Regions from separate parts of the Homo sapiens genome. Here regions 1, 3, 4, 5, 6 and 7 are each linked to region 2. The links are contacts of gene promoters, found by promoter capture Hi-C in blood cells and fetal thymus (Javierre and others, 2016). All regions are on one chromosome and are shown on one strand. The core of a region is centred on a gene start or on the middle of the fragment in contact, and the rest is flanking DNA. Distances in the headings are between cores, read along the strand shown. Region 1 overlaps CCDC38 (coiled-coil domain containing 38). Region 2 holds the start of TMPO (thymopoietin). Region 3 holds the start of UTP20 (UTP20 small subunit processome component). Region 4 holds the start of ARL1 (ARF like GTPase 1). Region 5 overlaps CCDC38 (coiled-coil domain containing 38). Region 6 overlaps USP44 (ubiquitin specific peptidase 44). Region 7 overlaps SNRPF-DT (SNRPF divergent transcript).

Evidence for each region. The method cuts DNA at HindIII sites, captures the fragments that hold promoters and counts their contacts. A CHiCAGO score of 5 or more calls a contact.
Region 1: a fragment that was not itself captured here is called in contact with the fragment with the promoter of TMPO in region 2 in 4 of 17 cell types (total CD8 T cells, total CD4 T cells, activated CD4 T cells and 1 more); the score reaches 12.6 in total CD8 T cells.
Region 3: a contact is called between the fragment with the promoter of UTP20 here and the fragment with the promoter of TMPO in region 2, in 5 of 17 cell types (total B cells, fetal thymus, non-activated CD4 T cells and 2 more). The highest score is 8.4, in total B cells.
Region 4: the fragment with the promoter of ARL1 here is called in contact with the fragment with the promoter of TMPO in region 2 in 1 of 17 cell types (activated CD4 T cells); the score reaches 9.6 in activated CD4 T cells.
Region 5: a fragment that was not itself captured here is called in contact with the fragment with the promoter of TMPO in region 2 in 1 of 17 cell types (activated CD4 T cells); the score reaches 7.4 in activated CD4 T cells.
Region 6: a contact is called between a fragment that was not itself captured here and the fragment with the promoter of TMPO in region 2, in 2 of 17 cell types (activated CD4 T cells and non-activated CD4 T cells). The highest score is 7.2, in activated CD4 T cells.
Region 7: a contact is called between a fragment that was not itself captured here and the fragment with the promoter of TMPO in region 2, in 2 of 17 cell types (naive CD4 T cells and non-activated CD4 T cells). The highest score is 6.6, in naive CD4 T cells.

The regions. Positions count from the first base shown.
Region 1 is chr12:95,935,825-95,939,529 of GRCh38, forward strand. It overlaps CCDC38 (coiled-coil domain containing 38), which reads right to left. Exons shown (of 16, transcript NM_182496.3): 2 at 649-699. The coding sequence starts at 685. Among named protein-coding and RNA genes, the nearest start is that of CCDC38, 4.9 kb to the right of the region's middle. The HindIII fragment of the contact is 1,082 bases long and covers 1,222-2,303 here.
Region 2 is chr12:98,512,996-98,516,976 of GRCh38, forward strand. TMPO (thymopoietin) reads left to right here and starts at 2,595. Exons shown (of 9, transcript NM_001032283.3): 1 at 2,595-3,151. The coding sequence starts at 2,873. It overlaps TMPO-AS1 (TMPO antisense RNA 1), which reads right to left and starts at 3,231. Exons shown (of 2, transcript NR_027157.1): 1 at 2,996-3,231; 2 at 1-2,902. RefSeq lists enhancers at 2,215-2,294, 2,555-2,744 and a silencer at 3,085-3,354. The HindIII fragment of the contact is 4,246 bases long and covers 517-3,981 here.
Region 3 is chr12:101,278,709-101,282,655 of GRCh38, forward strand. UTP20 (UTP20 small subunit processome component) reads left to right here and starts at 1,397. Exons shown (of 62, transcript NM_014503.3): 1 at 1,397-1,619; 2 at 2,408-2,488. The coding sequence starts at 1,575. RefSeq lists enhancers at 1,096-1,687, 1,421-1,470. The HindIII fragment of the contact is 7,469 bases long and covers 1,137-3,947 here.
Region 4 is chr12:101,405,446-101,409,028 of GRCh38, forward strand. ARL1 (ARF like GTPase 1) reads right to left here and starts at 2,327. Exons shown (of 6, transcript NM_001177.6): 1 at 2,197-2,327; 2 at 399-536. The coding sequence starts at 2,200. RefSeq lists enhancers at 1,810-1,859, 1,940-1,989. The HindIII fragment of the contact is 1,758 bases long and covers 1,781-3,538 here.
Region 5 is chr12:95,865,719-95,869,301 of GRCh38, forward strand. CCDC38 (coiled-coil domain containing 38) reads right to left here. Exons shown (of 16, transcript NM_182496.3): 16 at 1,330-1,471. The coding sequence ends at 1,358. It overlaps SNRPF (small nuclear ribonucleoprotein polypeptide F), which reads left to right. Exons shown (of 4, transcript NM_003095.5): 4 at 287-422. The coding sequence ends at 353. Among named protein-coding and RNA genes, the nearest start is that of SNRPF, 8.6 kb to the left of the region's middle. The HindIII fragment of the contact is 5,394 bases long and covers 1-3,583 here.
Region 6 is chr12:95,545,373-95,549,200 of GRCh38, forward strand. The region is part of intron 1 of USP44 (ubiquitin specific peptidase 44); the gene reads right to left. Among named protein-coding and RNA genes, the nearest start is that of USP44, 4.2 kb to the right of the region's middle. The HindIII fragment of the contact is 341 bases long and covers 2,409-2,749 here.
Region 7 is chr12:95,848,255-95,852,179 of GRCh38, forward strand. The region is part of intron 1 of SNRPF-DT (SNRPF divergent transcript); the gene reads right to left. Among named protein-coding and RNA genes, the nearest start is that of SNRPF-DT, 8.6 kb to the right of the region's middle. RefSeq lists enhancers at 1,837-1,981, 2,760-2,904 and cis regulatory regions at 1,909, 2,832. The HindIII fragment of the contact is 3,673 bases long and covers 762-3,925 here.

The DNA.
Region 1 (3,705 bases), core at 513-3,012, 2.6 Mb before region 2:
TCCCAGGTCTTTGGGAGGCCGAGGTGGGTGGATCACCTGAGGTCAGGAGTTTGAGACCAGCCTGGCCAACATGGTGAAACCTTGTCTCTACTAAAAACACAAAATTAGCTGGGCGTGGTGGTGCATGCCTCTAATCCCAGCTACTTGGGAGGCTGAGGAAGGAGAATCACTTGAACCCAGGAGGCGGAGTTTGCAGTGAACCAAGATTGCGCCAATGCACTCCAGCTTGGGCAACAAGAACGAAATTCCATCTCAAAAAAAGTAATTAATTAAATAAAATAAAATAAATAAAAATAAAAAATAGGCAGAAGGATAAGATGAGAAAGGGTGGGAAAGGAAAGAAGAGGGCAGATTTTCATAAAGTTTAGTTAGGTATGTCCTTGACTATGACAAATAATTGAGTTACTTGTTTTCTGTCATGAGAGACTGGGGCAATCTGGCTAAATATGACAATTTAATGCACCCTCTGATTTGAAGATTTTTTTTTTGAATTAAAAAGTAGAACAGAATCTTCTCTGCAGGTAGTTTATAAACTCATTACATTTTATATTTATGGTGTAACATTCTCCTTTTCTTATGCTCACAATCTGTTATGGAGCCTAACACTGCCAGGCCCAAACAAGAATATATTGATTGATTTCTTTTTACCTCCAGAATTCAGTGTTGGCAATAAATTTGAGGACATTTTCTTGCCTGGCCCTGTTGAAAGAAAAAAAAATACGTTTTTTAAAAATTCTATGAACATCATATAAAAGGGCTAAATTCAACTGCCAATGACTCCTTAACAGTCCTTATGGCTTTTAAAAGCAGTGAGCACACACATACTCTTTGACCCAGCAATTTCAATTCTGGTATCTTATGTCAAGAAAATAATCAGACAAGCAGCCAAAAAAGCATGTGCAATAATGTTTGTTCAATGTCATTTCATAAATACAGAGTTGACCAAATAACTATGGTATATCCATAAAATAAATTCCAGTTGGCCCTTAAAATGATGCTGTAGTCACTATTTACCTCTCTCCATGGTATTGGTTAAAAAACAAAACATTTCAAAAGAGTAGGGATAGTGTGGATTAAAAAATGCATGCAAAAATCTGAGAGGTGTTTGAAATGCCATTCATCAAACATGAATCTTGATTACATGTGATTTGGTGCAGTCTCTCATTTTTACCAGGTTTGGGATTAGGGTTAGGTGATTGAGGCACTCAATCTTAGCTGCAAAGCTTAAGGATTGCCAAAATAAACAAACAAAAACAAAACAAAAAAATCAACTTTCAGTTATTATGATAAATTAAATGTTAATGCAATATATTTTTATAAAATTCCAAATAAATGCAGGAAATTCTATAATGAACAAAATATCAAAATTGTAAATACGGACAGTCTCTGACCCTGTACTTGTGTGACCCTGAGAGCCAGTGCCTCACTCTACTCACCCAAATCCTGGCCCACAGAACTTGTCTCTATTTAAAATTCTGTTATTTCATTTATCATGAATTTTTTACATTAATTTATATATTTAAAATAGTGAATTAAAATATTGCTTATTTTGATTACTGAGTTTTTGCTTTCCCCTTAAATTTTATGCATGAAGCTAGAGCTTCACTGGCCTTACCCTAATCCTTGTTCTGATTTCTATACTTTGAGTATCATTCAAATTTCTCAGTGAGCTGGTGTAACTGTTACAATGAGAAAAATAATAAAGATATATTCATTTTGGGGATAAAGGACACCCAGGAGTTTATATTTAAAAATGTGCCCGCAGCAGAAACAATGGACAACACATTCTATTTTGGGCTACTCATTTAAATATGTGCCTCAGGAATCTCAAAGAGCCATATATAAGAGCTAAATATCCCGGAAGCAGAGCAGCAGATGATTAAGAACACAGACTTTGGACAAGCCTGATTTTTGAATCTTGGTTTGGTATTTACTTATGTGTGAGCAAGTTCATGTATCATTCAAAAAACATTTATTGAGTACCTACTATGTGTCAGGCACTGTTCTACGTGTGGGGGACAGGGCAATTTTTAAAAAGACAAAAAAGAACAAAAACTATTGTCTTCATGGAGCCTACATCTTAATTACTCAGCATCTCTGAGCCTCTGCTTCCTGTTTCATAAAGTGGACACACCTCTTAAGGCTTTCTTGAGGATTCAGTGGGCAATGGATTTAACCAAGTGGGGTGCCTGGCTTACAGACCAGCTCAGTAAGTGGGAACTATTATGTGCTAATATTTACTAATTAGCATCTGATTTTAGTTCCAGTGGTTATAAAAACAAATATTTAAAAAATTATGTCAAAGCTTATAAAAGAGAAAAAAATGAATAAAAACTATAACATTGACATTATACTTTTTCAAATGACTGAACATTTTTTCACAGGCATTAAATTCATTCTCACGGGGGAAAAGAAAGATCGGTGAAAAATTGGTGACAACCTGTGGTTGATGAGTATTTGGAATTTGGATGGCTAATACTAAAGATTTGTAGATTTTCTCAATTTTACACTCTGTACTCATCTCCACTCTTAGGATTCTGATCACCTCTTTCTTGTCACATTTTCACTCCTTTGGTCCTTCTATCTATCTAAATTCACTCTCCTTCCCACTCTCATTCCCTTTATCCTTAAAGTCTTTTTGCAATGAGCATCTTTATCCATGGGTTCAAGGACTTTTTCACTCACAGAAAAACTGGAAGTTCTGTTCCTTTAAACCAATTGCTAAGAGCAGATATCTGCTCTTATTCTGTCTCTATTATATAGTTCATATAACATGTAAATGCAATCAGCAGTCTCCAGATGTTGTTATACTTCTATACTTCCATATGCATGAATTCCTGTATTGATGAATGAAAGGTTGGTGAACAAAAGGGAGGGAGAGGAACAGAACCAGTTATTGTTAGGAAGGGATTATAAAGTCCCCTTTCCAATCAGAAAAAATGTTGAAGTCAGTGGATGTCTTTGTTGTGCGAAATAAAAATAGCATGATGGCTAAACAAAGGCTCTGTACCAAAAGAGAGGGAAAATGTTATTGGATTGCATAGCAAATGCCTGAAAGTTCACATCTTAAATACACGTTCACATCCAACTTCCAATAGATGAAAAAGATCAAAAGCTCAGAAATATCAGGAATGTAAAATGGTGGTGTATAACTGCCAGCCATCCATTTTAGAGGTCGCATAAGCTAAATGATTAAGAACATAGACTCTCTCTATGTCCCTTAATCCTCACACTTCAATTTCCCCATCTTTCAAGAGGAATGATGCAAATAGTATCTACCTTGTGGGATTGTTAGGTAAGTTACCACGTCCAGCCTTTGGATGGCCTCAGTTGCATAGTATGTGCTATGGGAGTGTAAGCACATGGAGAGGTGCACTCTGAGGGAGGAATGTGCCTGGTGTGTTTCAGGAACAGTAAGGACACCAGTGGGCCTTAAACACAGTGAACAAAGGGGACAGCACCCCAGATGAAGCCAGAGAGACAAGAAGTCCAAGATCACGAGGGCCCTGGAGGCCATTTTCTCAGTGAAATGGAACCATTCAATGAATCACTCTGATGCTGAGCTGAGAAGAGACTGTAGAAAGGGAAAAGGGTCACACAGGGAGATCTACTAGGAGACTACAGCCACTGGGAGGCAAGAGATAATGCTATCCCTTCCTTGGGATAGCAGTGGAAGTGGTGAGAGGTGGTCCGATTCTAGATGTG
Region 2 (3,981 bases), core at 1,345-3,844:
TTTTATTTTTTGAAGTTGAGGCAAGGTCACCAGCTAAAAATGAGAGGTAGGGAAAAAGGATGTGAAATTTGAGGAGATGTGAACGTATGAATGGTTAACCCAGAGACTGGAATAGCATTGCCAGCCAGTGTTGAGTGCTCCTGAGAGGACTGAGGTCATGAATTAAAACCAGTTAGCTTGTTATATGACTGACTTTTCTCCAGCAGCTTTTGCTGTTTGGATGTAAGCAATGAGAAAGTTCAGCTGGAGCATGGTTTAGTCCAAGCAAGGCTGAGATTCTTTCAAGCAAAAAAGGAGACATTGAGATCAGAGAGTTGAAAATGTTTGTAAAAGAGTGATGAAAAGGACTGATCAGGGAATTTAAGTCAGGTGAGTTGCAAAATTATTACATGATGGCAGAAGCAGAAGAGTTGAGTTTTTTTAAGTGTTGGGGTTAATAGCGTGGAGGTCTTAATTAGGTAAGTGAGAGTACCATAAATTAGCTGGGAAAAAAAGGCTAGTGATTGACAATTGGGAAGCTTGAAACTGAGATTTCAACTGATGACAAGGTTCAGAATCTGACTGATACCGAAGTGGTTAAGACGCAAGAGAGGAACAAATTGTTGGAGATGAAGAGGTCAGAGGTCTAAGAGGCCAAGTGTTGGTGTTGCATGGGTCACCTACAAGCATGCTGAATTCAGATAGAATGTAGACAAGAGGGATGGTGAGGAAAACCTACGGCAAGCAGCTCTATAATTTCTGGAAAGTGACCAGGAGGCTCGTGGATGATGGCAGGAAGGAGAGTAGAAAGTGATTTAGCCAGAAGATATGAACTTCAAATATTTTTGAAGCAGAAAAGAGCAGAAATGGTTTGGAAGTAGCAATCAGGACCAAAGAGACCACCCAAACTCAATAGCCCAACCTCTTAGCCTTAGGGTACGCAGAATCTGAAAAGTGTAATCTCAATTTTGGAGCTCTACAGCAGTAAATCTGCAAGTAACCACCTGTAGCTAATGTCCAGGGATTAAAAAAAAGATAATGAAAATGTTTTTGCCCAGGAAACATTAATTTCAGGCGTATCTAGAATGCAGTTCTTGCATTATACGTACTGGGTTACCAGTCATTGCAAAGTCATGGTCCTTTGCCTCTCAGCTCAGTTCCCCTTCTGAAGATAAAAACATTTGCCTATGTGTCCAGGGAAGCTGTGAGGACAAAAAACCAAGCAACTTTTACAAGGGATCATAAAAACCTACCTAACAACTTGCTAATTAAAACCTGATTTTTAATTTGCATTATTGAGCTTAATACCATTGCTTAAATGTATGTGAATACTGAGATTTTTATAAAGGAATTAGTTACCTCTAGGAAAATAATTATCACTAAAAGAAATAATATCGCAATTTGAATAAAAGTAAGTCGCTTAAATCATAGGAAACATTTTTAGTGAAGGCGTTTGTTTTAAATGTATTCTAACCTAGCAATGTAGAAAGCAGGCAAACATTTAAAAAAAATTTAACCAGTTTCTAAAACATAGTTTGGAGCTCAGATTCTGGGGAAATGATTAACACACCCTACATCCAAGGTCTCCTTTCCTTTCTAGAAAGAAAGCATCTTTAAACATACATATTCATCAGAAATACAAATATTTGTCATCAGTGATACTAATTTCCAGGCAAACATTTTAATTGCAGTCAATGTATTAGATTCTACCAGGTTTTAATTTGGATCGGTAATACGGGTTTGATTAGGGTTCTAGGCCTAATTATAGGTCACTAGTCTTCCTTTAGGATTATGCACCATCTGTTATTTTAAATTGACCATTGAGGGGGTTCCCAAGGGTTCTCCTTCGTTTTGTTATCAAACGTTAGGTTTAGGATTCTTGCGGGTGGTGGGATCCAAAGCCAGAGACGGTTTCAACAAAAATGCAAGCGCGAATTTGTCTTGCGTCTGAACGCACTGTTCAAATTAAACAATTTAGACATGCCCCAACTATGACACTAAGAAGTGAATGGTATAGTACACTTTTGTCACAAATTCAAGGGTAATTTAAGTGCCCGATTGTAGAGGTCTGGCTTCCCCTGGGTTTCTGGAACAAAAGAAGCGTTCGCGAGGAGAGGGGTAACTCCCCGCCCTCCCCCTCCCAAAGTAAATCAAATCAAGGAATATGAGTGCCTGCAGACAAGCCTCGCTTCTTTTCTTCCCCTTCAGGGCTAGCGTTTGGGGAAGGCAAGGCTGCGGCTACTCTTGGAGCTTCAGTGTCCCGGGAGGAAGAAAGGCCCAGCCAAGGGTCCTCACACTGGCGTGGAATTCGGCGCGTTCGTAGGCGATCGACCCCAGAGACGAAAGCTGCTTCTCAAGCTGGGGGAGGGAGAGGAAACGGCGCACAAAAGCAGTACGACCTGTCCCTTATCGGCGTCTAAGGGGAAGGGTGGAGAAAACGAAAACAGAAGCGGGCCGGGAGCCTCGGCTCCCGCCCCAGCGCCTTTTAAACTGCGTTTCTACCTCCTCTCGCTCAGCGCGGCGGCTAATGGAACCCGCGCGAGCCGTCTCGCCAATCACCGCCGCGCTTCCTCCCGTCGCCCGCCAATGGCGGCGCGCGTTCTTGGGGCGTGGGCGAAGCAGGCTGCTCGCCTCCTGCCTGTAGTGTGTGGGCTGGGGTTGGTGCGAGCTTCCAGCTTGGCCGCAGTTGGTTCGTAGTTCGGCTCTGGGGTCTTTTGTGTCCGGGTCTGGCTTGGCTTTGTGTCCGCGAGTTTTTGTTCCGCTCCGCAGCGCTCTTCCCGGGCAGGAGCCGTGAGGCTCGGAGGCGGCAGCGCGGTCCCCGGCCAGGAGCAAGCGCGCCGGCGTGAGCGGCGGCGGCAAAGGCTGTGGGGAGGGGGCTTCGCAGATCCCCGAGATGCCGGAGTTCCTGGAAGACCCCTCGGTCCTGACAAAAGACAAGTTGAAGAGTGAGTTGGTCGCCAACAATGTGACGCTGCCGGCCGGGGAGCAGCGCAAAGACGTGTACGTCCAGCTCTACCTGCAGCACCTCACGGCTCGCAACCGGCCGCCGCTCCCCGCCGGCACCAACAGCAAGGGGCCCCCGGACTTCTCCAGTGACGAAGAGCGCGAGCCCACCCCGGTCCTCGGCTCTGGGGCCGCCGCCGCGGGCCGGAGCCGAGCAGCCGTCGGCAGGGTAAGGACGCGGGGCCGGGGCTACAAAGGCGGGCGTTTGGCGGTTGCCGCGCGCGCTCGCCGCCGTTTGCAGCCCCTCCCTCCCGGGCGCCCCCTCGGGCCTCCCAGGTGCGGGGCTGTCCCTGCGCCCCCTCGCGTCGCCCCTTCCCCGCGGGGCTGCAGGCGCCGGAGCGGAGAGGCCAGAAGTTGGGGCCGCGGGGTTCGCGTTCTTTGACGTGTGGGTCTGGGAGGTGTGGAGTTGCGTTGGCGGCGGTTGTTTTGCACGCAGTCGACGCCGCTTCCCTGGACCACCAGCCGCCTGCAGCGGGCGTTTAGACGGGGACTTCCGTGCCCTTTCGAAAGCTCTGGAGGGGTGGCCCCAAAATGCTATAGGTTAAGTTCGAGCGTTTTCCCGCTTTATTAACTGAAATGACTCGCAGCAGAGTCTCAGAGCGCTCCCTGGAGGGCAACTGATGACACTCTAATTTCTAACCAAAATTTGAAATGAGGAAATTCCCGCCTTTTTATACTTTTGCGTGTGGAGGGCTTTTTGAACCGTTTATGTTTTCTAGTTTGTTTTAATTTTTCCCAGCAACAGGCCATCTTTTGGCGGAACAGGTTCATGCCGAATTAAAAGGAGCATTTTAAACTATATTTTTAGGCGCCTATTATAATTTTTTAGTTTTTATTTATTTATTTTTTTAGATGGAGTGTCGCACTTGTTGCCCAGGCTGGAGTGCAATGGCGAGATCTCGGCTCACCGCAACCTCCACCTCCCGGGTTCAAGCGATTCTCCTGCCTCAGCCTCCCGAGTAGCTGGGATTACAGGCATGCGCCGCCACGCCCGGCTGA
Region 3 (3,947 bases), core at 147-2,646, 2.8 Mb after region 2:
CTGCTACAGTGAGCTCTGTACAACAATATATCCAATTGTCTACTTAACATCACTCCTTGACTAAAATGTAAGCATCTCAGACCAAGTATTTCCAGTCTGGGCATGGTGGCTCACCCCTGTAATCCCAGCACTTTGGGAGGCCAAGCCAAGAGGACTGCTTGAGTCCAGAAGTTTGATACCAGCCTGGGCAATATAGCAAGATCCCATCTCTACAAATAATAATAATAATAATAATAATAATAATAATAATAATAAAAGAGCTGGGTGTGGTGGTGCATGCCTGTAGCCCTAGCTACTTGGGAGGCTGAGGTGGGAGGCTCACTTTAGCCCAGGAATTGAAGGCTGTGAATATTTTCAAATAATTAATTAATACTATTATTGCCTTTCTCGTTTGGCTCCCAGAACAGTACCTGGTCCACAGAGGACTCTCAAGAAATAGTTGCTGAATGAATGAATGAATGTAAAATGGGGTAAATAATTATATTTTTAAATTATTTTTTAAAATTGTACATATATGTATATATAACTGTACAATTTAACAACATGCTATGTGTAGACATTAAAGTGATGGGAAAAACACCAAACATTAACAGCGGTTGTGCATGAAATTAAAAGATTTTTCTTAAAACTCCTTCTCTATTTTTCAATTTTATTTACAGCGTAGTGGTTAAGAATACCAAAATTTAGAGTCTGAGTGAAGACTGCCAGTTACCAGCTGCACAACCTTGGTTTCCTCTTGTGTCAAATTGGCTTAAAAATATACACAGTACCGGCCAGGCGCGGTGGCTCACACCTGTAATCCCAGCACTTTGGAAAACCGAGGCGGGCGGATTGCCTGAGCTCAGGAGTTCGCGACCAGCCTGGGCAACAAGGTGAAACCCCGTCTCTACTAAAATACAAAAGAATTAGCCGGGCGTGGCGGCGGGTGCCTGTAGTCCCAGCTACTTTGGACGCTGAGGCAGGAGAACTGCTTGAACCCGGGAGGCGGAGATTGTAGTGAGCCGAGATCGCGCCACTGCCCTCCAGCCTGGGAGACAGAGTGAGACTCCGTCTCAAAAAAAAAAAAAAAAAAGTATATATCTATATATAGATATATAGATAGACGCAGTACCTCCTTTGTATTAACATCCCTAATAAGCTTTACTGTGAAATTATGGATGAAAGGATCTTTGCACGATGCAGGTACGTAGTGAGGGACAGTAATGTTAGTTGATAACGATTACAGGTATGTTTTATTTTATAATGAAAATACATTTGTCTTCTAAACCTTTACCGAAGGGAGTGAAAAGAACACCTCACCCAAACGCCCGCCCTTATGTGCGCAGCCCCGCCTCCTGTAGGCCCCACCCCACCAAAGGGTGCGCCTGCGCCGTTCTTTTTTCCGTCCACGTGACCCACTCAGGCTCCTCCTTGTCTCCAACATGGCGGCGCCCAGGGGCTCAAGCCGCACGTGAGAAAGTCTGGGCATCTGGGAATCGGAGAGTATAGCCTGTGAGCCGCTTTCCCCTCCTTACTGTCGGTTGCATCCCTTCGACACTCCCGAGGCCGTCGCGGGCCACTGGCCCTCTGCAGCCATGAAGACAAAGCCCGTTTCCCACAAGACCGAGAACACCTACCGGGTGAGCGCGGGAGCTTAGGCAGGGAGCCGCGGGTCTCCGCTGCCTCAGTCGTGAGACAGGCTCTGAGCGAGACTCCAGGGGCCTCAGACTTCTGGGCCGAGTGTGTCACTTTCCTGGAGGCTCCGGCGAAAGAGGGAGACACTGGATGTAGTAAACATGGGTTGGAGGAGGAAAGAAGTGTGGACAGCAAGTTTCACCCATGTTTTATGGGGTCTGGCCAGTCCTGGGAATTTCCTGTAGTCCAGAATTAAATTCACTATTCCAGGAGATTGCTTAGGACCAATTCTCCCCTGCTCTTTTATCTTTAAAGACCGAATTGGGCGAGTCGGCTGGCGGTGAGTGATTCCCAGCTAAGGGCAAATATACAGCGCTTTCTCTGTTTGCCCCTTGATAGATTGTTTCCAGGTCTTCCTTAGGATACAATCATAGGTCTGTATATGTTTAAAAACACTTTTATTGCAGCGACTTTGCTAGGTCCCCATGCTTATGGGAGGGTATGAAACCTAATAGATCTAGCGAGACTAATTGCCAGCATCCACCTAGGCTCACCAGTCTGGCAATGGAAATTTTATTTGAAATGACATAGCTGAGAGAAATTATGCAAACATAGAAGTATTCATTATCTTTGAACAGTGATGCAGTAAATTTGTTTACGGCCGTATGTTTTTCAGTTTATTTTTCCACTTATCCTTTGTGATTAGAGATGCCTACATGCAGCATTCAAATAGATATTAAAGATCTGATAAATTTTAATTAATTATGTATCTTAAATATACTTTCCCTTCCAGTTTCTTACATTTGCTGAACGACTGGGGAATGTTAATATTGATATTATTCACCGGATTGATAGAACTGCAAGCTATGAGGAGGTAAGAGAATGTGATACTAGTCAATCTTCAAGTGTTCATGGTGTTTTAGTTTCTTCTGTTAGTAGAAGTGAATTGTTTTTCAAGGTATTCCTTTTTGGACATGAAATGCTTTAGACCTGTGCTGTTTCATACAGTAGCCACATATGACAAATTGGATTTAAAGTAAATTAAAAATTTGGGTGCCCAAATGTGGCTAGTTGCTAACATATTGAATAAATATAGAATTGGAACATTTTCATCTTTGCAGAAAGTTCTGTTGGGTGAAGCTCTATTAGACAATTGACTTGACTTTCAGCTGTCTTTGTGATTCTAGCCTCTCCCTTTCCCTTATGCATTCCAAGCACTGCTGCAGATCCATATTCCTGAAGCTATAACTTTAAAGTGATTTTGAGGAAGCCCTTTTCCCGGGGCTTAATTTTCTCCTTTATAAAAATAAAGGGGCTAGACTACATAATATTTTCCAGTTTTAACCATACTCTGACTCTGTCATCCCTTTATTTTACTTTTATTTATTTATTCATTTTTTTGAGATGGAGTCTCGCTCCGTCTCCAGGTTGGAGTGCAGTGGCGTGATCTTGGCTCACTGCAATCTCCACCTCCCAGGTTTAAGCGATTCTCCTGCCTCAGCCTCCCGAGTAGCTGGGATTACAGGTACGTGCCACCACACCCAGCTAATTTTTGCATTTTTAGTAGAGACGGGGTTTTGACATGTTGGCCAGGATGGTCTCAATCTCCTGACCTCGTGATCTGCTCGCCTTGGCCTCCGAAAGTGCTGGGATTACAGGTGTGAGCCACCACGCCCGGCCTTGTCATCCTTTTATGCAGAAGTCTTTTTCTGCATCATGTCGTTATTCCTCCTAGCATTTTAAGGTCGTACGTAACATGCCTATACCTTGGCGATCCAATCTCAGTTCGTAATATTCTTCTTTACTATAATCAGACTCCACTCGCTGGGTCTTTGAATGCATTATCTCCACTGTGTAAATTCAATGTGTTAAATGATGTCGTCTAGGTGAGCACATTGTGCTTTGAGAACTCATAGTAAAGGGAACCTAACCTACATTCTTTAGGGGTGTCAAAAAAACGGTGATCTAGACGAGGTGACACCTGAATTTTGTTTATATAGGTTTTAGCATGGTAAAGAGGACAGGAAAGCCTGTTCCAGGCTGAGGGAGAAGCCTATATAAAGGAACAGAAGCTAGAGAATGCATGTCACATTCAAGAAACTGCAAAGCAGTCCAGTGTGGTTATAGGTGTGTATAGGGTGTTTTTTTTTTGTATTCATGGTGACTGGGATGGGGCAAGGGGGCAACTGGTGAGATAAAGCTGGAGAAATAGGCAAGGATCATAAAGGACTTCATATGTGAAGCTAAGTTGGGGTTTTATCCTGAAGCTGTAGGGACTTAGAGTTCTAGGACTGTAAGCAGGGGAATGAATGACATGATCAGGTTTAAATTTT
Region 4 (3,583 bases), core at 1,077-3,576, 2.9 Mb after region 2:
TCTCAGTAAGATTTAGTAACTTAAACCTATAAACAGCCCAACCCGGCCGTAAACCAGAACAAGGGTCCTTAAATTACACTAAGCTGCCTCTTAGTTGATGGAAAAAGTGTTATCAATGTTATGTTCATACTAGCAGTTTACAAACTTTATCAAATACTTTATTATATGAATTAATTTATTCAGAAATAGGCCTGGCATAGTGGCTCATGCCTGTAATCCCAGCACTTTGGGAGGCCAAGGCAGGAGGATCACTTGAGGCCAAGAGTCTAAGACCAGCTTGGACAACATAGTGATGATACCTGATCTCTACTAAAACAAACAAAAAAGAAAGAAAGAAATAGTTATGTTGGATGGAGACCAGAAAGTCCCTACAATTAGCTCATCATACCAACACTTACTAGGTATAGTAGTAACAACTTCTCCCACTTGTAATCTGTACAAAATTGTGGTTTTTCCTGCTCCATCTAATCCCAAAATTAAAATTCTCATTTCCCGAGTTCCAAACAGACTGGAAAATATACTTGAGAAAAAGCCACCTAAAAAATAATAAAAGAAAAAACATACACAATGTCATTTTGTGAACTAGGTATACAAAACATCTAACCTTGTCCTTTGAGAGCTAAATACCAAATTAAATATTATAATTTCCTGGATGCGTAGGTGCATATTTTTCCTCCCAATGAAATATATTATTCAATATCAAACAAGTAATTAGTTATGTTACTATGTCCTTAGTTATGTTACTATTGTGTCATGCAGGCACAGAAGATAAACCAAATAATAAGAGAAATATGGCCGCGGCCTTTGGGAATCTCATTTTCTAATCAGCAGAATAGGAATATTTTAGCATGATCCCCTCACTACCCCTAAAAACCAAGGGGCCAGTAAGGAGGATAGTGGGACAATGTAATCCTCGCACAGGAAAAGTACTGTACAGCAGCAGTACCACTATAACCAACTTCAATCAGAGTTCTCCACGAAGCAATATAGCTAGTACAAGAAATTGAGAAAAAAGCTGAAAACAATAACTATTTTTGACAAAAAACCCACTTTTAAAAATAATAAAGCTCTATCCAATGCATCACAAAATATTCCCAGAAAGCTTCCTGTACACCAAGTATTGTGTAGGATAAAAAGCACAGTCCTTTTCCCATCCAGAGCCATTAGAGAAGATTAAAAACAAGTTACATTAATACAAAAAAAAATAGTTAACATCAGAAGTGATGCCACACTGTTATTTGGCAAAGACATGGCATAACTAAGAGCTGCGAGTTGAAAAATGAACAACACCATGGGCTAGAGAACCTTGGGAAAGTTCAACAGAATAGGTGTGACTTGACAAAGTCCTTTCTACCATTTACAGGTAGAAGAGAGGCGGAACAAAACTGAAGGCGGTTATGGAAGACAGGACAGCGCCTGTGATGCTTGGGAGCAAGAAGTATGCTCCCCAGAAAACTGTGGAGGGATTTAACCAAGCCAAAGAATCTGCACCTTCATTTGGAGGGTGAGAAACGAGTTAAAGAATGTGCACCCTCACTTGGGTTCTAGCGGGGCGAGGGTGTTACCTGATGCTTGTGAGAATGCAGTTCCCTCAATCAGCGGGCCAAGAACCAAGAATAAAGTTTCATTTGCCGACTAGAAATACCCGTATTATTACATGAAACGCTACAGCAGATTAGCAGACAAATGCCAAACTGGCCATAAAACAACATAAGCAACACCTGCTCTCAGGTTTTTCAAACTGACGCCGTCCCAGCGCCCCTGGTAAAGAGAATGATTAAGCTTCCACTCTGGGGCCGCAGCTCATCTTTCACCAAGAAACCTCGGCGAACCTGCGACTGACGCGTTGCCAGCCTCCGCAAGAACAACTCTGCCCAGCAAGTGGAGCTGGGGATGAGGGAAAACTTCATGATAAGGGTAAAGAACTCGAACCCAGGCTCTGCGGACGTCCCCAAGCTGTCCGGGTCCCTGGACCCCGCAGGAATCAAGGGGAACCGAGAGAGGACGGAGGAGAACGCGAGAGGCCGGATCCACCCCTACAGATGAAGATCCAAAGTGAGTCAAGTCCTCCGCGACCCGCCCCCTGAGGAGCTGGCTACTCTAGGGTATCCTGGCCGGCCCCTCTCCTCCTCTGCACCCCAGCCCTCGGCCGCGGCTCCCTCGAGCGCGCCCAGGTGCCCTTCTCGAACCCCTCACCCATGATGAACCCCCTGTCCTCCCTCGCCGATCTTCAGTGATTCCTTGGCCTTCGGCTGCAGCTCCGAGGCGGTTTCCTCGCAAGCCCAGTCAGCCAGCAACTTCCACGTCGGACTCCAGGCGGGGGCGGGAGCGAGGGTCAGCTGCGACTGCGCGCCGGGAACGGTGGCCTGAGCATCCGCGTCGTCGCTTTCGACTCACGGTCCCCGCTCACTGGATGTAGATACCGTGGAGGCCAGAAGAGACGAATAATTCAAAAACCTGAAGTCTCTCCTGCTTGTGTTTTTCTGGACAGAAAGAGCTTCTGAAATAGAGAAATTGGAATTTTTGTTTTAAATTCTGACACCAAAAAGTGGCGAATCTGACAACTGAAAATGCGAGTCGGGCCTCGATGAGTCGTCCCGGTCGAACGCTGGCGCAGGCTGCGGCGTTGCAGAGGACGCGTGTCCCGGAGCGCCCTGCGGGGCCAGCCCAACTCTCCCTAGGTGCTTTCTCCCAGAAAGAAACAAGACTACGTAATAATAATAGGAATGGTACCGCGCTGCCAATGCGGAGCAGCCTTGCACCTGAGGCCAGTAACCAGAGGTTTTTGTCTTCGCTGTGGCCTGCAGGACGAGGACCTCGCCGGCTTTTTTTCTCGCTGACCGAGCAGCTGAGACCGCCTTTCAGGGGTCGGCAGTGTGGACTGGCTGGTCCCGATCGTGGGGACCAGGGACTTATTCCCTCGAGGGTCGACTGTTGGAAGTAATGTAGGTTTTGATAGTGAAGTGTGTGGAGAGGAAGAAGGAAGCACACCTATAGGATGTGGAGAAGGGATTTCCCCTAGAGAAATTTTTAAAGGTTGAGCATGTATGTTTTGAAACTTCCCAAAGATCCATTGAAAAGTGAACCTTCCGGCCGGGCGCGGTGGCTCACGCCTGTAATCCCAGCACTTTGGGAGGCCGAGGCGGGCGGATCACGAGGTCAGGAGATCGAGACCATCGTGGCTAACACGGTGAAACCCCGTCTCTACTAAAAATACAGAAAATTCACCAGGCGTGGTGGCGGGCGCCTGTAGTCCCAGCTACTCAGGAGGCTGAGGCAGGAGAATCACTTGAACTCAGGAGGCAGAAGTTGCAGTGAGTCGAGATCGTGCCACTGCACTCCAGCCTGGGCGACAGAGCGACACTCCGTCTCAAAAAAAAAAAGAGAAAAGTAAACCTTCCATCCCTAATACCCTGTATCTCGGTGATCCCCAGTAGTCACTACTGTTAATACTCTCTTAGGTTTTCTTCCAAATCTTATTAATACCTTTGCATATTATGTTTTTATTTATGGTAGAGATTTTCATCCATTCAACAGAAGCTTATGGACTGCCTTTTTAGTTTATTTTAAAAGAATTTTTCTA
Region 5 (3,583 bases), core at 1,051-3,550, 2.6 Mb before region 2:
ATTGATTTTCTGTACTAGCTTCAAAGCTCCAAATTCTGGTAATTATTTCCTTTGGAAAATCATAAAGATGTCATTTTATAACAACCATATGGTGGAAAATAAGTGCCATGTGCTTTTCAACAAATCTATGTGAAACTTTTTTTTAAAATGAATATATTTAAAAAATTTTTTTAAAGACAAGAATATTATAAATATAGTATTCAGTATTTTCATAATAAAAATATAGTAATTCATATCATACATGGTTTCTGGTTGGAACAACAAAATCGACTTTTTCTATTTACAGGTGTAATAATGTCCTTTATATCAGAGGTGTGGAAGAAGAGGAAGAAGATGGGGAAATGAGAGAATAGCATCTTTTGTGGGGGATTTTTTTTATATATATTTCTAGACAATAAAGATTTGTTTGTTTTTCAACTTGACTTGTGAACTATTTGTATTCAGATATTTACAAGCAAAGCTGAAATGATGAACCAATTGGGAAAGATTACTCACTGAACTAATGCTTTAAAAGCCACTGAATTTCATTTAAGTTGCTTTTCTTTTGTAAGCCCAATATTCTTTTTTTTCCCATAAAGGATAATTATTTATATGCTTTAGATATTTTTATGAAGGTGAATTTCAGACCTTTTCTTGTAAAATTATCTATTAGCTGAGACCTTTTAAATGCAACTTTTTCTTTTAAAGTTATTTTTGAGCTACTTTTAACGTATAAAATTAAACATTTTCTTGGTATTAATAATATACTGTCTTATTTTACTTAGTAGTCAATAAATTACATGTTAATTCTGTGTCAATATAAGCTAAATGCACATATTGCAGCTAAAATTGAAGCATCTTCTAAAAATTAAAATGATTGTACAGACAGGGCACAACAGAAATTGGGAACTGACATTCAGGCTGAAGGCATACGGTTTGTTCACTGAAGAGAAAAAAGTTCTCTGAACAAAATGTAATGTCAAATAAAAACCAGTCTCCCCATTATGTTCTGAGACATAACCTCGAGGTTGAGTTTTAAGCCCCTCAAAACCCTTCAGGTATTTTAGGGTTGTACATTGTTAAAATGTATAGTCCATAGTAATAACAGTATGCTATGAACTTCCCTACAGATGGGTTGAGAAAATACATCATTTACATTCTCATGTTGTAAGAGAATGGCCATTATTACACTTCAGTGTTCATTTACCATAGTTTTATCAGTAAACTATCTTTGTGTATCCCCAAGTGGGACAACTCAAAGTATAGAAGAAAGTGTTTAGCTATATGGAATAATACTTATGATATGAATACTTAAAGACTTAAAATTTACAAAATACACCTAAGACATTCTGGTAATAAAATGTCTTACTGCTTTTATTCAAGTAAAAAAATATTCTTCCTCTTGTGATTTTGTTTTTGTTTCATTGACTAAAGGTAGCTGCTGTTTGTTACCAGATGGAGGTTTTGAATGAAAGACAAGTCGTCTTCCCAACTGAAACAAAAGAAAAACAAAATACTTAATATTTTTTGAGCATAGCCATTTTCTATTGAAATTTGTGAAATACCAATATTAACTTGATTTTTACAAGGAATAATATGGTTTGTAACATTAACTAATCACAGTTAAAAGGGACTTATAACCTAACGGATGTCTAACATGCTAGGCAAAGTTGAGTAGCAAACTGGACACCAATAACTATGCAGAAGGAACAGCAGTTAGGTTTTATTGGGAAGTGGGAAAACTTAGGTAAAGTCATCAAATAGTATATGGTTCAAATGTGGTCAGCCTAGAAAAGCACCATGTTGAAGGCCACCATTTTATTTCTCAGTAAGTGCCATAGCCAGTTTTTCGTCCATGGTTGGAAGAGATGGCTTTCTCCTGTTGAGCACCTGACTAGCATTTAGAAATCTTGTTAAATAAAAAGTCCAGAAAACCATGTACCATCTTGAATACTGGTTGGCTTCTGGAGGTGTTCCCAACAGAAGAGGCTTTGGGAAACCCCGAGTTCATACCTATTCATTCTCTCTGGGTCATATATACTCAAATATATTACTACTTATTTTTCTCTTTACTTTTGGGATTCCCTCCTCCACTTTTTATTTTGTTTTGCTTTTATAGCTGAATTTGTATACATTAAATGTATAAGTGGGGAAACTACCATAATTCTATGAGATTTGATGGGACATTGCCACTGTGTTCAAAAGGCACTATTGACATTGTAGGACAATTCTTATGTGAGATTGTCCCCTGCATTGCAGGCCTGAGAGAACCTGAATAACAATAGCACTTTTCCCCATCATTGTAACAACAAAAATATCCTTGGGGGACTAGAATTTTTGAATTCCTTCTGCAATATCGGAATTTTTAACTGTCAAAGATCTTTGGTAACATTTGTTATTAATAGTGTCTGAGAAAATTAGCAATGATGAAGTGTCCTAACTGGGTCAGCTTCTATCAGAGGTCTTTGTGTGTTGTTGATTTATCAGATAACCATTTTTTCCCCCAATTTTTTCCAGTTTTAGTTTTTATGCTCATTTTTAGTCTGTTAATTCACTACACATCAAGTATCCATGATGTGCCAGGTATTAGGAATACAAACGTCATAAAACTCATGGTCTAGAAGGAAAGGTGAATATATTAAAAAATAATAATTTCAATTTGGTGGGTTTGCTAAGTAGTCCATGTGGAAGGGTGATGAATGGTTAATTCTTGGGAGGAGAGGACAGGTGAGGAAAGTCTTCATGGAAAGAATTGAACTAGATAAATACCTTTTTTAAGATGAAGTATTTATTTCAATAAAATATTTTGAAGTAATCGTTTTTTTGTCATGGCACATATTAATTCCCATACTTCAGAATTGTTTTCAAGTTCTTACCTCTTGAGGTTAGTTGTAAGGCACACAGTAAGCATTCGTTATGTGTTAGCTATCACTGTGGTAAGAATCAGCATCCGCAATAGCTTTGCAGATAACCATGAAATTGTCTTTCTGGAACATATTTCAGATGCTATCCCAGAGGAGGGAAAGAGTGTCATATAGAAACAAACTCCTTACCCTGTGTAGAATTGATGGACCACATGTACCTGACTACCTAATCCCAAACTTCTGATTGGACAGGTAGTCTTGCAAAATAAAGAACTTTGGCTTCTGGTCCTGATTGTGCTGCTAAGTCAAAGTGACTCTGGGCAAATCATCTTAACTCCAACTGTCAATCTCATTGTCTTTACAATGTGGGGATTATACACAGTCCCCACAGTTACATGCGATTCTCTGGGTTCACATCTCCAAAACATTACTGAGTGAAAGAAGCCAAGTTCCTAGTTATCATTAGTAAGAAAAAGAATATGTACATAAATACATATTTGTGTATGTATATTTCCAGAGGGATGCAAATGAACCTGTTAACAGTGGTTGCCTTCAGGAAGGGGAACTGAGGAAGACTGACTTTATACTGAATACTCTTGTATCTTTTGAACTTTGAACAATATGCTTTTAATCTATTCCAAAAAACAAGAAAAAAATTATCTGATTTTAATGAACCTAGGTCTAAAAAGAGGAGAGAAGAGGCTTCTTTTACTAAAATGTGTGTCTAATTGAGAACTGGA
Region 6 (3,828 bases), core at 1,329-3,828, 3.0 Mb before region 2:
AACATTTTTCTTTAAACAGTAACAAACCAAACAGATCCTCTACAGGCTATTAAAAGTTGTATGATTTGTTATTTTCCATAATAAAAGATAGGAGGAAATGGTAATTTCGGTAGGAAGTAGGCCTTAGGAATTACTAACCACCACAATGCATTTGGATAAGAATGAAAACAACTTTATCCATAGTTTGCAGTAATTAGGGTAAATCTTACCCACTCGTATAAGCAATTTTCCATTTTCCATTTACTTCACGGAACCACCATAGTATTCTGTCCTCTTAAGAAATGTTTGTGAAACGCCAAGGGTCAAGCACAGTGCTTGGTTCACAGAAAGGGGTTCAATATTTTTGAATGAACAAATTACTGAGCGAATGAACACAATGGGCTCTCAAACCCTCCCCTACTCCCTCTTAGGTATGCTATTATGTCCATTATGTGCTTTGGCACCTCTCCATGTCAATCATGATGTATTTCCTTTCCTTTATCCCTAGAAAGGCCCTGGTTATTCTTTCTTCCTTTAGAGATCTAGAATCTATAATTACCCTGATCTTGCTTGGAACTCCTCATTAAACAATAAAGGACACCCTTTTCCCTTGGGCCTTCCTCATGTCTCTAACATGCCTCTCCTGAAGCAGAGATTGAATCTAGTTGAACACGTTGTAAGATAAAGCTCCTGAAAGCAGTTTCTGCCTCCGGGTTATTTGAATTTCTCACCCCCATCCCTACTTAACAAGTAATTTTGTTCCAAAACATTTATCATCAGTGTCACATCAACAAATTTACACATCAATCTACCGCAGCTAACTTCGTAACAATGGGAGAAACATTCAGAATAATACTGAGCATCCTACCAAGGGTCTGAAAAATTGAATTCAAATACTCTGTGTGTAAAATGCCTAGACTCTGTCATTCCAGCACATCTATGATCTGATCTAGCAAGTATATCGTTAGACTACAAATTACCTTTTTCCTATGACGTGTAAAACTCCATTAAAAATGAATTCTTCCTAATAAAGTTTTTTATGGCGTCTAAAATTGCTGTGAATGTTACACCTTTTACAATCACCTTTTAGCCAGAAAGCCATTATTTGTAGAATCCTCCTGTATTTCAGTTATTTGTCACCTATTTAGGCTGGGCCTAATAGCAAAACTGTCCCCCGTTACTGAATTCAGAGAATTATTCGGGCACACGATTTATTTCCTATCTTGATTAGACTCCTGAGCCCGTGCCCCAGCCTCTCGCTAATCTCCCTGGACCAGACAACTCCATTAGAATCTGGCACCCACGTTTGTTCTGCCTAACACTGCAGGAAGGACAGAGACTTCAAAGCACGTGTTTGTTTTTTTGTTTTGTTTTTGGCTACCAAGAAGCCAAATTTCTGTATCCTCTACCATTCAAAACCCCAATTCAACAAATTTACACGGGGGTTTTTCCTCCACGTTAAGCAGTTAGTCGGGTACTAGAGATACACATATAAAACACAGACTCTGCCCTCAAACAACCCAATGAGCAGAAAATTCTCTTAGGCACCAAAACGCTGTAATAGATTCAAGTGTGTAGAGGAGAAGTTTGGTAGAGTGGATATGACGCTTTCTTTCTTTGTAGTACAGAAAAGATAAATCTGTAGAAAAGGGAGAAAGACAACTGGGTAGAAAATTTATTTCAAATATCTAACCCAAATCTTCAACAGATTTTCCATTTTAAATATTCCAAAAAGTGTACCATTGTATATTATACTAAATGCAGGTTCATTTATCACTTAAAAATTTTTAAGCTAAAAAATCTCAAACAATTAACATTTGGGAAGAAAAACAGGACTGATACACAAAGTAGTCAAAATATTTCAGCTTTCTAAACTGTATGCACTGGACTAACTGTTCAATATTAGAATATCTCTACATTTGAATTTGGATAGCCCACAGTGATAAATACTGGACTGAAAAATCTGACATCGAACATATGCAAAACTAATGGCTACTATGAAAAAAGATAGAATGGGGAGAGAAAACTTGAATGTGCCAAAACATTTAAACGCTCTTTAAAATATCCTGAGATGCTAAATTAAGGACAAAACGATTAGAGTTCCAAGAATACAAATTTTCATCTCTTTCAAGATTCAACTGAATATTGAATCTCATTGAGATTATGAAATATTCTCTAAGCATGTGCTTAACTTCTATTTGGCTTTCCGCATTTCACCACAGTGAACAGCCCATTCTTTTTCCTTGTTTACACCAAATGCTCGTTTTGAACACAACTCAAAATGGAATTCCAGGCCCAAAAGTCACCACCCCTACTTTCACCCCCACAGGCAGCTACTTAACAGATAAGGAATTCAAGTGCAGGACCTGAAGGTCTTATTTCCATGCAAATTTCACAATCCCCGTTACTTGCCCAGATACAACAATTAAAGCTTAAAAGGTGGCGGGAGTGGGGGACTTGAGGACTGGTCTGAGGAGAAAGTGAATCTCCCAAGGGTTCCTAAATGGTTTTGCTTCCAGTATAAAAACTGCGAGCTACCAGTAGAATTTAACAACAGCTCAACCTTGCATTTGGAACAGTTACTATATAGTTCACTTTCTTTTTTCATGGGGGCGGGGTATGGTGTCTTACCTACTCTTAAATTTGAACGTATTAACAGGTTCCCCTCCGCGCACACTGACATATTTCTTATCCCCCATAATGAATTCAGCCATATGGCATTCTTTCCCATCGAAGGCCATCGGGAATGGCTTTAGGAAGCTGATTTTCAAGCTTTAAGCGGCAGCAGGTGCCGGCAGCGCGGGGACCGATCGATGGAGAGAAGGCGGGCAAGACGCCGGGAAGCGCATTCCTCCTCAACCGAGTGCCACAACCGCCCTCCCGAAGTGCCCCGGGGCTTCGAGCATCACCTCGCGGTAATCCGGGAGGGTGGAGGGATGCGGCTGGACCCGGGCGTTGCGTGCTCCACACAGCGCCCAGCCCGTGCCAGCCCCGCGCCCACCTCTCCACGACGCTCGTGCCGGGATCAGCGCGAAGCCCCTTCCAGTCCCCGAAGCCCTCGCCCGCGCCCGTTCTCCCCCAGCTCGCCCCCTCCAGCCCGCTGCGCCTTGCCGCAGCATCTCCGGGCACTCTGAGGCTGCCGCCGGGACAGGGTCGGAGCGCCGCAGAACCCACCGAAACTTCCCAGGGGGGCAATTCAAAATTCGCCGGACGCGTCGCCGCCGCGCGCCCCTCGGCTCATTCCCTTCCGCGCGCCCGCAGCCCCAGGCTCTCCCTCTCTCAGGACCCCCCAGCGCCCTGCGCGGCGAGAATAGGCCCCCAGGTGCCTCCCGGCCCCGGGGGCTGCCGTCGCACGTCCGCTCCCGCAGGGGTCCTCACTCCGCCAATCGCCGCGGCCGCGCGCCCTCGCGCACACTCACCAGCCCGAGCCGGGGCGGCCATCTTAGCGCTCACCCCGGCCCCCCGCCCCCCGGTTCGGCGGCCGCGACGACCCGGTGCGGCGGCTACGACAGCCGTGACGCGCAGCAGGCCCCGCCCCCTCCCACAGCCCCACCCCTGCGCCGGCTCTTCGCGGGCACCGAGAACCTGCCGGTGGCCGCCTTCCGCGCCTCGTGGGGGGGTCGGGGCCACGGACGGTCCCCGGCGCCGCAAGTGGGTCTGCGCGAACAACAAGCACTGCCTCCCCGGGCGGGCTTCGCACCTGTAGTGCCGTCGGGACACGGGAGGGTAAACCCAGCGTGTCCTGTGTGCCTGTGAGCCGCAGAATCATCCACGGACGTCGTTAGTCCTTCCTGGAATTTCTGCGATTTACACAACGTCGAATTGTTTGGCAGAAACGCGTGGCAAACT
Region 7 (3,925 bases), core at 1,348-3,847, 2.7 Mb before region 2:
TCTCTACTAAAAATACAAAAAAAGTTAGCCGGGCGCAGTGGCGGGCGCCTGTAGTCCCAGCTACTCGGGAGGCTGATGCAGGAGAATGCTCTACTGTTCAGTATATTCCATTCTTTTGAGTAAGAAGGGTGGACACCCTGATTCCACCCCCCTTTTTTTTGGCATATATATATATATGTTTGAATTGGTGCAAATTTTTAAAGTCCAAGTCTCTCAAGTCAGTTATTCATTAATTTATTCATTCCAGAAATTTGCCATTATGTGCCAGGGAACTAATTATGTGCTAGTAAATGACTAGTAATAGCAACAAAGGGTTAATGAATAAAATACCTTTTTCTCTAAAAGAGAGTGTAGTTAGTGCTAAAACAGGTGGGGTAGAGCCCATGTGACAGAACAATTAGTTACCTAGGGAAGTCAGAGAAAGCTTCAGATATGAAGTGCCCATTTGAGTGGGGCCATGGAGATTAGATGAGGAGGCATTTTTCAGGCAAAGCAAATGGGGAGGGATTTCTAGGTGGTAAGAACGTCCTGTGTAAGTACGTGGAGTTGTGAGAAAAAGCATGGCCGGCGGTGCAAGGGCCAGCTTTGCGGTTCATGGGACAGAAGGGAAAGAGATGAAGGAGTTTGTTTTAGGCTGCTAGTCATGGGTAACCAACAAAGGTTACCCATATCCAACTAAAATGTCCAGGTCTTCGGTTTGTTTTGAAGGAAAGGAGGTCAGATACCTCTGGCAACAGGGTAATAGATGAGGAAGTAGAATAAGCTTTATTTTTTAAAATTGGATTCAATGGAGACATTTGAGGGGTGAAGGAGGTGGGGGGAGACTGTATGGCACAGGATACTATGGGGAAAATTCCATGAGGTTTTGTTTTGTTTCCTTTAGTGTTTTGAGAACAGTGAAGTCCTATTTGTACTGATTAACTTTGAAGTGCTTATGTGGCAAACAGAACTCTTATTCCAAATTCACCACTGCCACCCGCTGGAACCATGGCAAAAAACAGAAAAGTGTTTAAAGTCAGTATTGAACACTGATCATCTACTTGAGTGGTTTCCAGCCATTTCATCCACAGACTTCTTTTATTATCTACTCGCCCCCACAGATTGAATCTATGATTTACAAAACTCAAAGACATTACTTATTTAAAATTTGTTTCCCATTTTAATAATCAGATACATAAATAAATGCCAGTCAGAGCTTCTGACCCATGATGATCCACCAGTATTCGTATTTTAAGGTGACTTCATTCCAAGCAAAAGCAAAGACACATGAGGTCTTAGTCTATAGTGTCTTTATTAAAATAAATGTACAATTTGTTGGTTATTTTTCTTTGTTTTTGAAAATAGTTTGCAAAGCCACAACACTACCTGCAAACTGATCCAGGTTCAGGGGCCTGTGGGGCCATTGATCTCCAGTGGTCCTCAACCAGGGGCAACTGTGCTCCCCAGGGGACATTTGGCAATGCCTGGAGACATTTTTGGTTGTCAAACCTGGGTGGGGGAGGGACTACTGGCATTTAATGGGTAGAGGCCAAGGATGCTGCTAAGCAACCTATTATGCACAGGACAAGTCACAAAATAAGAATTATTTGTGGCTGGTTGCGGTGGGTCACTCCTGTAATCCCAGCACTTTGGGAAGCCGAGGCAGGCAGATTGCTTGAGCTCAGGAGTTCAAGACCAGCCTGGACAACATGGCGAAAACCTGTCTCTACCAAAAATACAAACAATTAGCTGGGCATGGTGGTGCACACCTGTGGTTCCAGCTACTTGGGAGGCAGAGATGGGGGGATCACTAGAGCCCGGGAGGTGGAGGTTGCAGTGAGCCAAGATTGAGCCATTGCATTTCAGCCTAGGTGAGAGAGAGACCCCGTCTCAAAAAAACGGGGTCTCAAAAAAAGAAAAAAAGAAAAATAAAGAAAAAAGAATTATTTGGTCCAAAATGTCAATAATATCAAGGTTGAAAACTCTGATCTAGCCCAATCCCTACAGTGTATAAAGGAAGAAAATAAGATCCAAGACAATTAAATGACTTTTTCTTTTATTTTAGTAGGCAATACATTCAAAAGTTCCAAAAATAGAACATTAAAAGGGTATGTAGGATTTGAACAGATATTTCTCCAAAGAAGATATACAAATGGCCAATGAGCAAATGAAAAGATTCTCAGCATCATTAGTCATTAGGAAAATGCAAATCAAAACCACAATGAGATACTGCTTTATAGCCACTAGCATGGCTATAATTAAAACAACAACAAAAACGGAAAATAACAAATTGTTGGTGAGAACGTGGAGAAATTGGAACCTTCATACATTGCCGGTGGGAATATAAAATGGCGCAGCTGCTGTGGAAAAGTTTGGCAGTTCCTCAAAAAAAGTTCTGTGTAAAATTATGATATGACCCAGCAATTCCACACCCCTAGGTATATGTCCAAAGAAATTGAAAACAGGTATTCAAACAAATACTTGTACACAAATGCTCATAGCAGCAAAATTCACAGTAGCCAAAAGGTGGAAACAACCCAAATGTCCATTAACAGGTGCAGGGATAAACAAAATGTGGTATATACATACAGTGGAATCATACTCATACATTAAAAGGAATGAAGTACTACTACTACAACAAGCTACAATGTGGGTGAAGCTCAGAGACATTACACTTAGTGAAAGCCAGATATAAAAGGTCACATGTTGTTTCTATTTATATGAAATATCCAAAACAGGTAAATTTATAGAGATAGAAAGCAGACTGAGGGTTGCCATGGGCTAGGAGAGAAGGAAGATAGGGAGGAACTGCTTAATGACTACAGAGTTTTCTTTTAAAGTTGTGAAAATGGGCTGGGCACAGTGGCTCATGCCTGAAATCCCAGCACTCTGGGAGGCCGAGGCAGGCAGATCACTTGGGGTCGGGAGTTCAAGACCAGCCTGGCCAACATGGTGAAACCCCGTCTGTACTAAAAATACAAAAATTAGCTGGGTGTAGTGGCATGTGCCTATAATCCCAGCTACTCAGGAGGCTGAACCAGGAGAATCGCTTGAACCCAGGAGACGGAGGTTAGCAGTGAGCCGAGGCTGCACCACTGCACTCCAAACTGGGTGACAGGGCGAGACTCCATCCCAAAACAAACAAACAAATAAATGAACTTGCAAAAATGTTTTGGAATTATATAGAGGTGGTGGTTGCAATAACATTGTGAATGTACTATATGCCACTCAATTGTATACTTTGAAATGGTTAATATGTGAATTTCATAATTAAAAGTTTTTAAAAAATGCATAGTGAAACATCTCATCATTGTCTGCCCTCAGTGTAGTTCCCACTACACCCATAGGCAACCCGTGTTCTTAGTATCTTAGGAGCCCTCCAGTATACTTATGCACATACACAGAAATGGATAGCTTGTTATCCCCTTCTTTCTCTTTTTATACAGAGGCAGCATATTTTGCAAATTATTCGGTGCCTTGTCTTTCTCAGCAATTTATCATGGAGATCTTTCTGTGGCCTTGACACTCTTGAACATTGCAGGCCACTTTGTTCCTCAATGTGGTTTGTCTGATATTTCCTGATTACTAGATTCAGGTTATGTGGCTTTGGTAAGAATATCACAGAATGCATCTTTTCTTTGCATCTTATCATGTGGCACCTGATTTTGATTTTCCAGTTGCTAACGATAGTTGTTTGATCACTGGATTGTAATAAGATGGTGTCTACCAGTTACTATAGTGAAGAAGACTGAAAATAGCCAATGTTCGAAGGGATCCTGATTCCTTTAGTGGGAAGCAGTTTCTAGAAACTAAAACCTGAGCATTAAGTATGCTCATTATTATAGGTTGATTCCTTTGATTAGTGCCCTTGTAACAAATTTCCCTTCCTGCCATTGTCCCCTCCCCTGCATTTCTTCTTCATTCCATTCAGGTTCTGACACCGTGT